2 separate regions of the Homo sapiens genome follow, and region 2 is linked to region 1. The links are contacts of gene promoters, found by promoter capture Hi-C in blood cells and fetal thymus (Javierre and others, 2016). All regions are on one chromosome and are shown on one strand. The core of a region is centred on a gene start or on the middle of the fragment in contact, and the rest is flanking DNA. Distances in the headings are between cores, read along the strand shown.

Region 1 (6,248 bases), core at 2,030-4,529:
GGTTAAATGTTTCTCCTTGAGGATCCTAGGTTCTTCTCACAAGGGTGGGCCTCATGGTTTGTGGCAGCCTTCTTTTGGAGCACATTTTAAGCCATATTTTTATCTTATAGCTAGCAAATCCAAAGAATAAATACAATTGTTATGAAATCTTAGCTTGGAAGGGTGGGATGATTATCACACTCAGAAAGCTGACTTAGAAGTTGATATTGAAAGCACATCCCATCTATGGAGCCCTGGTATCCCCTTTATCTACAGGCAGTGGGGGGTAAGTGGTTCTTGGAAGAGTCAACTGCCTTTAATTCATCATTCTCACTGTTATCATTATGAGATAAACCAGATGATTTTGAAGAGTGCTAACTTTGTGTCTAGATCAGCAGAGAGTCCTGCAGACTGGGACCCAGGCATTTGATTCTGCTCCAGCAAGATCTAGGCTTGTGGACCTCAAATCTGTATTTTTAAGGAGCACCCTAGACGATTCCTATGGCATCCAGCATTGGTAGGCACTGGTCCAGAAAAGTTACCTGGATTTGTAGTAAGGAAGACTGAGGCCTCTAGAGGGAAAGAGGCTGGTCTAAGGTCACACAGTGAGCTGGGATACCAGCTGGGACCCCACCTGGGATTAGGACACACAGCTCTGAGCCAGTGCCTCTCCACTGCACGACCCAAGGATGTTCTCCTGCAAGTCAAAAGGAATTGGAGAGATTGAACAAATATGTAACATGGTCTCTGTCCTCAGGAGCTTATATTCCAGACACAGGACGAGGTACCCATGTCAGAGACAAGAAGACGCAAAGTCCCACCAGTCTGCATGGGTGTCCCCAGCTAGGAGCCAGTTAATAGAGAAGGTAAAAGGGCAGAAGGAACACGCATTAGGATCCATTTGTCTGCTGAGTGCCTTGCACACATCATTTGCTTTAATCCTCACAACCAACCCATTGGGTTAGTTACTGTTCATATCTCTATTTCACTGATGAGGAAGTTGAGGCACAGAGAGGCAAAGCAACTACAGGAAAGTCGCCAAGCTAGCAGGTGGCAGAGCCAGGGTAAAGTGTGTCCGACCTCAGAGCTGAGTCGAGAGCTGTCTCCAAGGGAGGCCTGACCCCACTACTTGGGTAGAGTTTGCATCTGCAGATCAATTCTTTACATGTCATGTTTGACAGCTAAGATCCATTCCCAAATGACTCTGCGGTCCATTCGTTTGGTAGTTTCTTTCAGGGGGCTGAGGTACTCAGAATCTGAAGGGTTTCTATCCAAGTCTGTGGAGGGACTAGAACTTCCAGGATCACAGATTTGCCTCAGTCTCCTAGTTTCTTCCCTCAGTCCATTTATGGCAGAAGAAGGAACCTGCCTGGGTGCTGTAGATTTGTCCTGGGGTCTGAGATCTCCAGGAAGAAAACTCTCCCTTCCCCCAGCTCAGGCAGTGAGGTCTTCCTGTACCATCCCTGACCCGTGGTCCATCTCCCTGTACTGATGGGAGTTTTAGGGATCAATTCTCTGTTGCTCAATTGGATTGTATAATTCTCCTGGTCACACCTGAATGTTAGGCCTATCTGTGCCTCTCAGCCCGTCCCAAGTCTTTCTCTTCATAATTCTCAATTCCTTTCTTTTTCCCTTATCAAGGTAACATGCCACTTTATTCCCTCTTGGCAAATTTTACCTTGTTGCCCTATCTTATTTGGTCTATATTTGAGCAAGATATTTAGAAACATCCTTCAAAAAACCAGTTGCGCAACAATATTTGCTGAAATCTAAGTTTATTATGACCTTGCAGAAGGAAAATAACAGAAATGAAAGCACAAAATATGGCAAAAAACAGGATCTGTGAACTGTACCCCTACCATACCACACCTAGTTCAACATGTTCTCATTTTCTTCTTCAGGTTGGGGGAGAACAGCTGTGACTATAAATGCCTCGGAAATGCATAGACCCCAGGTTTGGCTATACGTCCTAGGGAACCTCGTCTACCCTCTTGAATCTCAATTTCCCCAGGAAAAACACGAAGCTGAATTAGATGACTTCTACCATCTTAGCTTTACAATCTCATCTTTATGACAGTCTGGAATATCAACAGAATCCGATGCCAGCCTGCAGGGATGAGGGTGTTAGAAGCTTAACCGTCTCGCACAAGTCATCTTACCACATGGTCAGGGTAGAGGGACTATAACTAAGTCATGTGGCTTGAGATCTGCCCAAGCAGATGCGTTGTCCCCTTCTGCCAATGACCAAGCACAGGGATCCTTCAACCTTTCCTCTAAGTCCAGAAGATAAGACAGCAACGCTCTGGTCCCAGCACCGCCACAAGCCTCTTTTCCTCTAGGGGCCTCAGTTTTCATAGCTATAAATTGGGGCTCACATCAGTTTTCTGTCCTGCTTCACAAGACTCTCATAAGGCTCCAAGGAGACTGCCCCAGGCGGGAGCTTGAGGACCCCCCTTAGGGTCGTGAGCAGTGAAAGCCCAAATGCTGTGTCTGGCACTGCTCATCATAGTCCTCTATCCAGCCCTCCCACCCTGCCTATTCTTTCTCCTGCCTCCAGGACACCACGTCTCCCCTTTCTAGTAAGTAGCGTTGATCTCATTAGCAGTTACAACAGTTCTCTGCATCTCAGAGCATGGACTTTAAAACCAGATAGGTGTGGCTTGAGTCTTGCCTCTATCACATGTAGTCCCTAGGGCTTCGGACCATTTCACTTCCCTGAGCTGATTTTGCAGCTGAGTCAAGGGGATAACAATGCTGACCTCACAACATAGTAGGGAGCGCTAAATGGGACAGTGCCTGTGAGACACCGAATTCAAACCCTAGCACATAATAGGCACATACTCATTTGAGGGCTTCTGCTCCCATCCTTCTCTCCGGAACTCATGGTCAGGAAAACTCAGCGGTCTATATGGCGCTCACTCAACCAGTAAAGTTGCCATAGGGTTCCATTGCTATCTTATACACCTCCCACATTCTGCCCCAATTCCATCGTCAAGCCTCAGCTCAGCCCACCAAGGGCACTAGCATCATGACCATTCACACAAGAGCAAGGCTTACCTTCTTGAAATAGTCAGCAAGGCTGTCGGGGTCCCAGCCCAGGACCTCTGAGCGAAAGGGCACATTCCTCAGTGCCATGGCTGCTCTCCCGGGAAGAAGCTCACAAGCTGAGCATGGGCGCTTCACCCATGGGCAGAGAAGCTCAAATCCAGAGCTCGGAGGCGTTCTTGGCTCTTCCAACTCCCAGCTACCCTGTGGAACACCCCTGTTGGAGCCGATGTCTTTTCTGGCGTAGCCAGATCCCAGAAAGCAACGGCTTCCTCTGCGAACAAATATGGTCTCTTCTCAGAAAACGACTCAGCTAGTTTCCTTTACCACTTCCTCTGCTGGGCTCTAAATAAGTAAACAAGGAAGCCCAGCTCTGGAGGCTTGAGATGCAGAGAGAGCCACAGGGTTGGTAATTCCCCACTGGCTCCAGTCACCCCAACCCAGTAGGAGAGGCAATGAAGGGGTCTTAAACTCCAATGTGAGTCTGAGTAATTTTCCTTTAAACTCTGGGCACCCATATGTCTACACTGCATTCTTGCTCAGCTGGGGCTTTGCAGACCAAAATCTATCCTGACGGTTGACCTGAAATACAGACAATTTCCCACATCAGTGAACTGCTGGAGCATGTTTTTTTAATGCTTTCCAACCACTTTCCCCTCCCACCATCAAAGACTGGGATTCTTTCAGCTGCCTCTTTACAGTTGTCATGAGAGGGTCCTCAAGGAGTGAGTGAGTCAGGCACCCAGGGCTGAACAAGGTGCTACACTGTGCAGACAGGGCTCAGTTTCTGATATGACTATTTCTGTGCTATGCAACCTTAGGCAAGGAGTTAAAAGCTGGGAATCTCAGTTTCCAAATCTGTATAATAGGAAAACAGTGATTCTTCATATGCACATAAAACTTAGATGCATTCAACTAGACAAACCTAAAAAGAAAAATTAAAAAGAAAAAAAACTTAACAATTGCTATTGGTAGTGTCATATATTCCATTCACTATTGTTTCCACAATATATTTTATTCACTATTGATTCTGCCATATATTCTAGCCAAAGAGCACATTCCCTGGAGATAGGAGGTGAGAATTTGCTGTTTTCTTAGTTTCAGACATTGTTCATTTCTCATAACTGAACAACTTATTGGCAGAGGGTGAGTCCAGTGTATAAAAGCAACTATATTTGTGCAATAAGGCAACCTCTAAACACAAGTTACTACTTCATCTAATGCCACACACACACACACACACACACACACACACACACGAGTCATCTGTTCCAAGGCTGTTGCCTTTACTAAGTGATGCTATGTTGGTCCTTGAGGTGGTGCCTTCCTGAGGGTTTTCAAGCATAGCTTTGGCCATGCACAGTTTTCTTCTTATACACACTCTGAGGAGCCCCGCCGTCACGGTAATGCACCTGCCTCACAAGCTGGTGGGCAGCTTAAATGAAATACACATTTTGCTCCAGGCCCAGCACTAGCTCATCAATGTGAGCTGGTGTTAGCCTCACCTTAGAAGGTGCTGAGGGCATCAGTGAAGGTAGCCCAGGCCATTTGCTCCTTGCAGGGCCTCACACCTAAGAACTCTTTTCTTTTCTCTCTTTCTTTCTTTCTTTCTTTTTTTTTTTTTTTTTTTATTGAGACGGAGTTTCGCTCTTGTTGCCCGGGCTGGAGTGCAATGGTGCCATCTCGGCTCACTGCAACCTCCGCTGCCTCCCAGGTTCAAGCGATTCTCTTTCCTCAGCCTCCCGAGTAGCTGGGATTACAGGCATGCACCACCACGCCCAGCTAATTTTGTATTTTTAGTAAAGACGGGGTTTATCCCTGTTGGCCAGGCTGGCCTGGAACTCCCAACCTCAGGTGATCTGCCCGCCTAGGCCTTCCAAAGTGTTGGGATTACAGGCGTGAGCCATTGTGCCTGGGCCGCACCTAAGAGCTCTTTGTAGCTGATCATTCTGTATAAAGCACAGCTCTGCTGTACAAAAGCTCCATCACGGGTGAGAGGTCACCTGGTCTTTCAAATCACTAGCATAGCAGTGAACAATAAAAAGCCATTTGAAGAGAAAGAGAGAGAGAAATCACTTTGAAGTAGAGTAAGCACAGAAGATGTCATGGAATTAACTGGGATTTAAGCAGGGCCGTGGAGGATGGAGTAAAAGGGAGGGCATTCCTGACGTGGATCAATCAATCTCTCTCTCGCTATCTCTCAAAACACATGCCACCTATGAAAAGGAACATTCCAGATCATCCTTAAAAGTAGAAGCAATTTTACTTTATTTTATTTTAATTTCTCCTTTTTATTTGCTTTTGTTTTATGTTTAGAGATGGGGCCTCCCTCTATTGCCCAGCCTGGAACGCAGTGGCACAATTATAGCTTACTATAGCCTCGAACTCCTGGGATCAAGTGATCCTCTCACCTCAGCCTCCCAAGTGGCTGGGAGTACAGGCATGCACCACCATGCTCGGCTAATTTTTTTATTTTTACTCTTTTGTGGAGATGGAGTCTTGCTTTGTTTTCCAGGCTGTTCTTGAACTCTTGGTCTCAAGCGACCCTCCCATCTTGGCATTACAAAGCGCTGGGATTATAGGTGTAAGCCACCAAGACTGGCCTAATTTTCTTAATGATGTTCACCCCACTCAGGATAAGAAAAATCTACAAAAAAGCAGTTGTAATGAAGGTATCACTAAATATTAGGCTCCTTTAGAAAGAATTATCCAATTAATGTGGCCAAGATGGAGGATCCATGGAGCTCATTTAGAAGACAGACAAAGCAGCTAAGAAACCTGGATGACAATAATGGTGACTTTGAGAAACATAAAGAGACACGATGCCTTGAGCTCTTCCTATGGTCCAGAGAGCACAAGCTAAGAACTTCTTACTGACTGTCTTAATTGTTGGCACTATTGTTGCTCCTACTCTACAGAAGAGAAAATTGAGGCTCCAAGAGGTGAACTACTTGCCCCCTGAACCCAGCAAGTAGGGAGTGAATCCAGGACTCTTCCAAAGTTGATCTGAGTCCAGAGCCCCTGTCCTTGGCCATTTGCCACCTTGAGGCTCTGAGATGTTACAGAAACTGCCTAAGGTAGACTTGGGATTCAAACCCAGTCTGTCTCCAGAGCCTGCGCAGTTTCTTCTCTGTGGCCTCTGGTGAGGAGAAAGAGAGGTTGTCAATCTGAACAAGCTCAGTAAAGGATGCAGCACTCTGCATGAGGCGGGCACTTGGTGCCCC
Region 2 (6,248 bases), core at 1,333-3,832, 320 kb after region 1:
AGAGAGAGGCAACAGAGCCAGAAACCCTTCAGAAGATGCCAAGAGCAAGGTTTGGACCCATAGTCCACCACTTACTAACTTCAAGAGTGTTATGAGCTACAAACTTCTCAGTCTCCGTTGACTCATCTCAAAAATGGAAGTAAAATTATTTACCATGCAATATGTTGTCAAAATGCATTGGGTTTAGTTCATAGCAGGTGCTCAAAGAATATCAGTTCCACTTCCCTTGTCCCTAGAGAGCCTTGTAGTGGATGTTGATGTGTCTTCCAACACATGCACCAACCTTTCCCTGTCCTGTAGCAGTTGAGATGGAATCATCCCACTCCCAGCTCCAGGAATAGGCTCTGATGGGCTTGAACCCAGCAGCTTAATTCCATTGGTTCTCTAGGCCTTCATCATTAGTACAGGAAAGGCACTTGACCTAAATTAGTTCGATAAGATTTAAGCTCAGAAATCTGGTTTGTTGGATGGAGAAAGAGATGCTTTCTTTCTCTCTGGAAGGAGTTTATTGCAAAAGTAAGGGCTGGGGCTGCTACAGCCATTGTGCTACCATGAGGGAACTAGCCATGATAACAAAACTTGCCTGGGGAGGGGCTACGCATCACAGAAAATGATGCCAAAGTCCTGCTCAAACTGTGCCTGATGCCTGCCTGATCTATGGACTTCTTAGTTCCATGTAATGGATTCTCTCTATTTTTAAAGCCGTATCAGGTTGAATTTTTGGAGAAATAAAACAAAAAGCATCTTGACTAATTTAAAAAATCTTCTTTGGGTATTCAACCCTCCTAAACTCACCCCCAAATCCACTGGGAGCATGTCAAGATTTTTGTGAGCCGATTTAGGAGATGCAAATTCATTTGCCTTAATTGGATCTCCAGGAAATGACTTCTGCCCCCTCTTAAATCATTTAAAGCTCAAAGAGGCATGAGGGCCCTCCCCAAGGATGCAGGTATCCTCTTGACTGACAGCCTGTATGCTCTGCTTCCAGGATCCTTCCATCTCCTCCCTTTACTGAGGGAGTCTGCTATGTGTTAGAGGTGTCCATCACTGGTCACACTGGGAAGCTGTGGCAGGGAAGCTGGAGAAAAAGCAAGATAGGCCCCAGAAAGAACACCAACTCCAGACTCAGGGAGACTCAGGCCAGAATCCTAGCTCAACTTCTTCCAAGCTCCCAAAGTCACACTCTTTTCTCTGAGCCTCGATTTTCCCATCTGCAAAATGGGGATACTAAGGGTCACCTAGCTGGGCTGCCCTGGAGATTCCAAGACATTAGGCATAGAAACAGTCTGGCCTAGACCCTGTAGGCCAGTAGGCATTTGATCAATGGCAGCTGTGGTTGAGATTTTTATCATCATTATGGCTGCCCTTCCTGCTTTCCAGGGCTAGTGTAGATCTAAGATTATAGGGGCTGCAACGTTCCTCAGTGGAGCAGATGCAGCAAGGTAGTAAGAGAGGGCATTCTCACTTGTCCCCACAGAGTGTGGTGTGGGGGAGATCTGTGAGCACCCCAGCAGCCATGAGGGTCAGCACTTGAATCTCTGCAGGTCAGTCATACTCCTCTTTATTATTTTTATTTTTATTTATGTATTGATTTATTGCTCTGTCACCCAGGCTGGAGTGCACTGGCACCATCATAGCTCACTGCAGCCTTAAACTCCTGGGCTCAAGTGACTCCCACTTCAGCCTCCCAAGTAGCTAGAGCCACAGGCACATGCCACCACGCCTAGCTAATTTTTCAATTTTTTGTAGAGACAGGGTCTCACTGTGTTGCCCAGGCTGGTTTCAAATTCCTAGGCTTGAGTGATCCTCCCGCCTTGGACTCCCAAAGTGCTGGGATTACAACTGTGAGCCACTGCACCTGGCCTTATTCCCTTCTTTTTATCAGTTTTCAAAGCCATCAGTATGCAGAGCACTAGGCCCAGAAATGAGAGGAGAAGAGAGATGGAACGACGAAGACCAAAACCTCTGTCCTCAAGCTGCTCATAAGCCAGTATAGAGACGTGTGGAGTCTGCTGTCCTGAGTTCCAGTCCCAGTTCCCCTTGCAAGCAGCCGTGTGACTTGCAGCAAGTCATTGAATCCCTTTGAGCCTCACTTTCCTTGTCTAGAAAACAACAAAACTGGAAATAATACTGCTTCCCTTCCAGTTTGTCAAGGATGAAGGTGCTTTGCACGGTCCCTGGAGCAAAATGTGTTCTCAATCAAGATTCCGTCTGTGGTGGGTGGAGCCGCGTCCTTCCCAAATTCATATTCACTCAGAACCTTCAAATGTGACCTTTTTCAGAAATAGCATCTTTGCAAGTTTAATTCAGTTATGGGTCTCAAGATGAAATCATCTTGGATTTGGGGTCTATCCGAAATCCAGTGACTGATGTCCTTATAAAAAGAAGGGATACAGGCCGGGGCCAGTAGCTCACGCCTGTAATCCCAGCACTTTGGGAGGCTGAGGCAGGCAGATCACTTGAGGTTAGGAGTTCAAGACCAGCCTGGCCAACATGGTGAAACCCCGTCTCTACTAAAAATACAAAAATTAGCTGGGTGTGGTGGTGAGCACCCATAATCCCAGCTACTCGGGAGGCTGAGGCAAGAGAATTGCTTGAACCCAGGAGGCAGAGGTTGCAGTGAGCCGAGATCGCGCCACTGCACTCCAGCCTAGGTGACAAGCGTGAGACTCTGTCTCAAAAAAAAAAAAAAAAAGAGTGGATACAGAGAGGCAGTGAAGAAGGCTGTGTGCAAAGACAGGCAGAGGTTAGTGGGATGCAGCGCGAGGCTAAGGAGTGTCTGGGGCCACCAGAAGCCAGGGAAGCCTAGGAAGGGTTTTCCTAGAGCCTTTGGAGGGAGCACAGCCCTGCTGACACCCTGACTTCAGACTCCCAGCCTCCAGAGCTGGGAAGGGATAAGTAGCTGTTGCTTTAAACCAGTGGTCCCCAACCCTTTTGGCACCAGAAACCGGTTTTGGTTCAGTGGAAGACAATTTTTCCACGGACAGGGTGTGTGGGGTGGGAGATGGTTTCAGGATGAAACTGTTCCGCCTCTGATCATCAGGCATTAGCATTAGTTAGATTCTCATAAGGAGTGAGCAACCTAGATCCTTCGCATGCGCAGTTCGCAATAGGGTTCATGCTCCTATGAGAACCTAATGCGGCGGCTGATCTGACAGGAGCGGAGCTCAGGCGGTAATGCTTGCTCGCCAGCTCACCTGCTGTGCAGCCGGGGTCCTAACAGGCCACAGACCCATCCGTGGCCCAGGGGATTGGCGACCCCTGTCTTTTTTTTTTTCTTTTTTTTGAGATGGAGTTTCGCTCTTGTTGCCCAGGCTGGAGTGCAATGGCACGATCTCGACTCTTCAACCTCCGCCTCCTGGGTTCAAGCCATTCTCCTCCCTCAGCCTCCCAAGTAGCTGGGATTACAGGCACCCGCCACCATACCTGGCTAATTTTTGTATTTTTAGTAGAGATGGGGTTTCTCCATGTTGGTCAGGCTGGTCTTGAACTCCCGACCTCAAGTGATCCGCCCACCTCAGCCTCCCAAAGTGCTGGGATTACAGGCGTGAGCCACCACGACCTGCCCGGGGACCCCTGTCTTAAACCACCCCAGCCTGTGATACTTTGTTATGGTGACCCTAAGAGGCAAATACACCCTCCTTTCCCCAACCTCTCCCCTCAGACGAAACCGATGCGAAAAGTGCTTCATGAAGTTTCAGGTAAAGAAGTCTGGGACGAAAAGGGATAGTGAGGATGGCGGGAGGGGCTGAACTCCAAATGGGCTTATCAAGGCTCTGCAAAATGGCGTGACGGCGCTGCCCCCTTCTGGTGGCCTGAAGACTAACGCACATGATGTCAAGTGCGGGGCCCAAGTACTCAGGAAAAGGTTCTCATTTGGACACTGGGAGGTCTTACATTGGGGGCCCTGAGCCTCCAGCCCTTCCAAATCTATTCTCAGCAGGAGCTCAGCCACACCTGTGTCCCAGAACTGAGGCCAGGCCCAGCCTTCACTCCACGCCCAGCCAGCCCCAAGGAACCGACTCCCTGAGGCTCTATGCTCCCTGCCTCCAGTGGCCCCGTGTCTGGGAAATAGTGGCCCTGGCCTGATGCCCTGACCTGGGCAATCCATCCCCTGGTCCTCTCAGCTCCCGGGCCCAGGTTTTCTGGGCTACTTTAACCAGGGCAAACTCATTCCTCGAGTACAAAATAAAAGATTCGAACAGCATAATCAAATAGGTCATACCCATAAATCAACACATTTGAGCACCTATTTTGTTGTTCTTTCACTAATCCAAACCATATTTATTGAGCATCTACTATGTGCCATTCTCCAGTAGCCATTCTAGGTGCAGGGGATACAGCAGAGACCTTGAAAAAAGGAACAGTCTCTGATCTTGCTGAGCTTAGAGTCAAGTGGAGGTGAGGAGGAAGGAAATGAATTAACAACTAAGTGAAGCAGAAGGTAACCAATTGATTGACTGACGAAGGGGTACAAACAACAAACACCTTCCTTTCTCCAAACTCTATCTTTAACTGTATTCTCTCGTTTTCCTTCCTCTCCATTTTACAATCATTTTACAACATCTCTGGCTATTCTCCTATATTTCTGATCACTTCGGTTCTCATCACAATAATAATTTCAGTTTTCAAGCATTGGAAAGTCCCATCCAATTAAAATGTCAATCTCACACGCAGTTTAAACGTTTCGCCTGCCCGTGAGCTCAGACCTGTCTTGGTGCCTCAGTTCTTGTGTGGAGGGGAGGAGAGGAGAGGGGAGGGGAGGAGAGGAAAGGAGACCGGGGAGGTGGGGGGGGAGAGGGGAGGGGAGGAGAGGGGAGGGGAGTGGGGGAGAAGGGGAGAAAAGCGCAGCTGGCTTCCTCACTCTCCTTTCCTTCCTCACCATCCTTACCCTGGCCCAGGGCAGGAGGAGGATTGGCAGAGTAGAGGCAGGGTCTTCTGTCTTAGCTGGGCCTGTTGGTGACTTTCTGTTGGCCAACATGGGCTGACTGGAATGTTCTCCAGCATGGCACATGGTCATCCAGATGCAGGCTCTTCCCTGGGGCACTATAGCAGAGAGGGCTCTCTTCCAGTCTATTGCAGATGGATGCCCTCGTGAGCTGAGTTTTGATGAACATCCCATGTCCCCAGCCACCCCATTCAGAGCCTCTTTCTACTCTGGTCCTCTGGTCCCAGCAGCAGCCCTCTGGGTACTGAGGGGAGGGCATCTCACCCAAGCCCCTTAAACCTGCTCACCTTCTTCAGAGCCCACGTGGCCGCAGGAAAGTCACAAACCCTTGTGCTCCCACAGGGCACACGTGTGCACACGTGTGCAGCTACCTTCTCTCTAGTTGGTACCTGAGGCTGCCTCCTGGATTTTCCAGTCTCTGTGTTCCCAGACAACCCCAAGCCCCAAGAATACAAGAGCTCTGTCACCAAGCATCGGGCCTGTGGCTGCACTACACGTCTGCAGCTCAGGACCCCTGGCTGCGGCGTAAGCTACCAGCATCCCCTTCTCATGGGCACCCTCATCTCCGGCTCCCCATCGCTGGGCTGTGACCTGCGGGGGCGCCCCTCTATGGAAGGGAAGGAGAAAAATTCACAGTGCTATCTACTCCTCTGAATGCACTCCCACCAATTTCCTTGGAAATTTCTAGCTTTCACTGACATATCTGGGATGGGGCGGTGGTCACAAAATCAATCCCACTTTCCCTCGGCTAGTCTTACAAGCACCCAACAGCTCTATTCAGAATACAGGGCTGCCCAGCTACTTCCCATTCATTATCCCCAGGTTGCAAGCTTTAGTCAAAACCCAGAGGCAGCAGGGTGTCTGGTTCCACCTGCTGTTAGGATGATTTCAGGAGTGCAAAGTGTTAGAAACGCGGTAAAACATGATGCTTAGAGATTAAGTGGGATGGGGACTGGGCAGATGATGCTGCTTTGGACCCAGCGAGTGAGGTGAGACTGCGACAAGACAGAGCCACTGAGCAGTGACCTGGGGGATGGGCATTGCAGGCAAGGCAGAACCCCAAGTGGGAACAACCTCACTGGGCTTAGCAAAACTAAAGAGGCCCAAAGTATACTGAGCGATGAGGTGAGTGGCGTGGGATAAGGTTGGAGAGGAGGCTGGAACCAGACCCTGCAGGGCCTTGCAGGTGATGGGAAGGAGTTTGGAAGGTGCTGGAAGGTTTGAAGCAGAGGAGGGATATGATCATGCCTGTAGCTGCTATGTAGAACAACTGTATGCATGCCAGGCCTGTGCCACGCAT

What was found. The method cuts DNA at HindIII sites, captures the fragments that hold promoters and counts their contacts. A CHiCAGO score of 5 or more calls a contact.
Region 2: a fragment that was not itself captured here is called in contact with the fragment with the promoter of LCP2 in region 1 in 1 of 17 cell types (M0 macrophages); the score reaches 6.2 in M0 macrophages.

Annotation. Positions count from the first base shown.
Region 1 is chr5:170,294,498-170,300,745 of GRCh38, forward strand. It overlaps LCP2 (lymphocyte cytosolic protein 2), which reads right to left and starts at 3,280. Exons shown (of 21, transcript NM_005565.5): 1 at 3,037-3,280. The coding sequence starts at 3,114. RefSeq lists an enhancer at 2,383-2,462. The HindIII fragment of the contact is 7,744 bases long and covers 2,109-6,248 here.
Region 2 is chr5:170,619,945-170,626,192 of GRCh38, forward strand. All of the region lies in intron 1 of KCNIP1 (potassium voltage-gated channel interacting protein 1), which reads left to right. It overlaps LOC124901132 (a long non-coding RNA gene), which reads left to right. Exons shown (of 2, transcript XR_007059045.1): 2 at 1-160. Among named protein-coding and RNA genes, the nearest start is that of KCNIP1-AS1, 58 kb to the right of the region's middle. RefSeq lists enhancers at 3,621-3,915, 5,399-5,898. The HindIII fragment of the contact is 6,388 bases long and covers 1-5,776 here.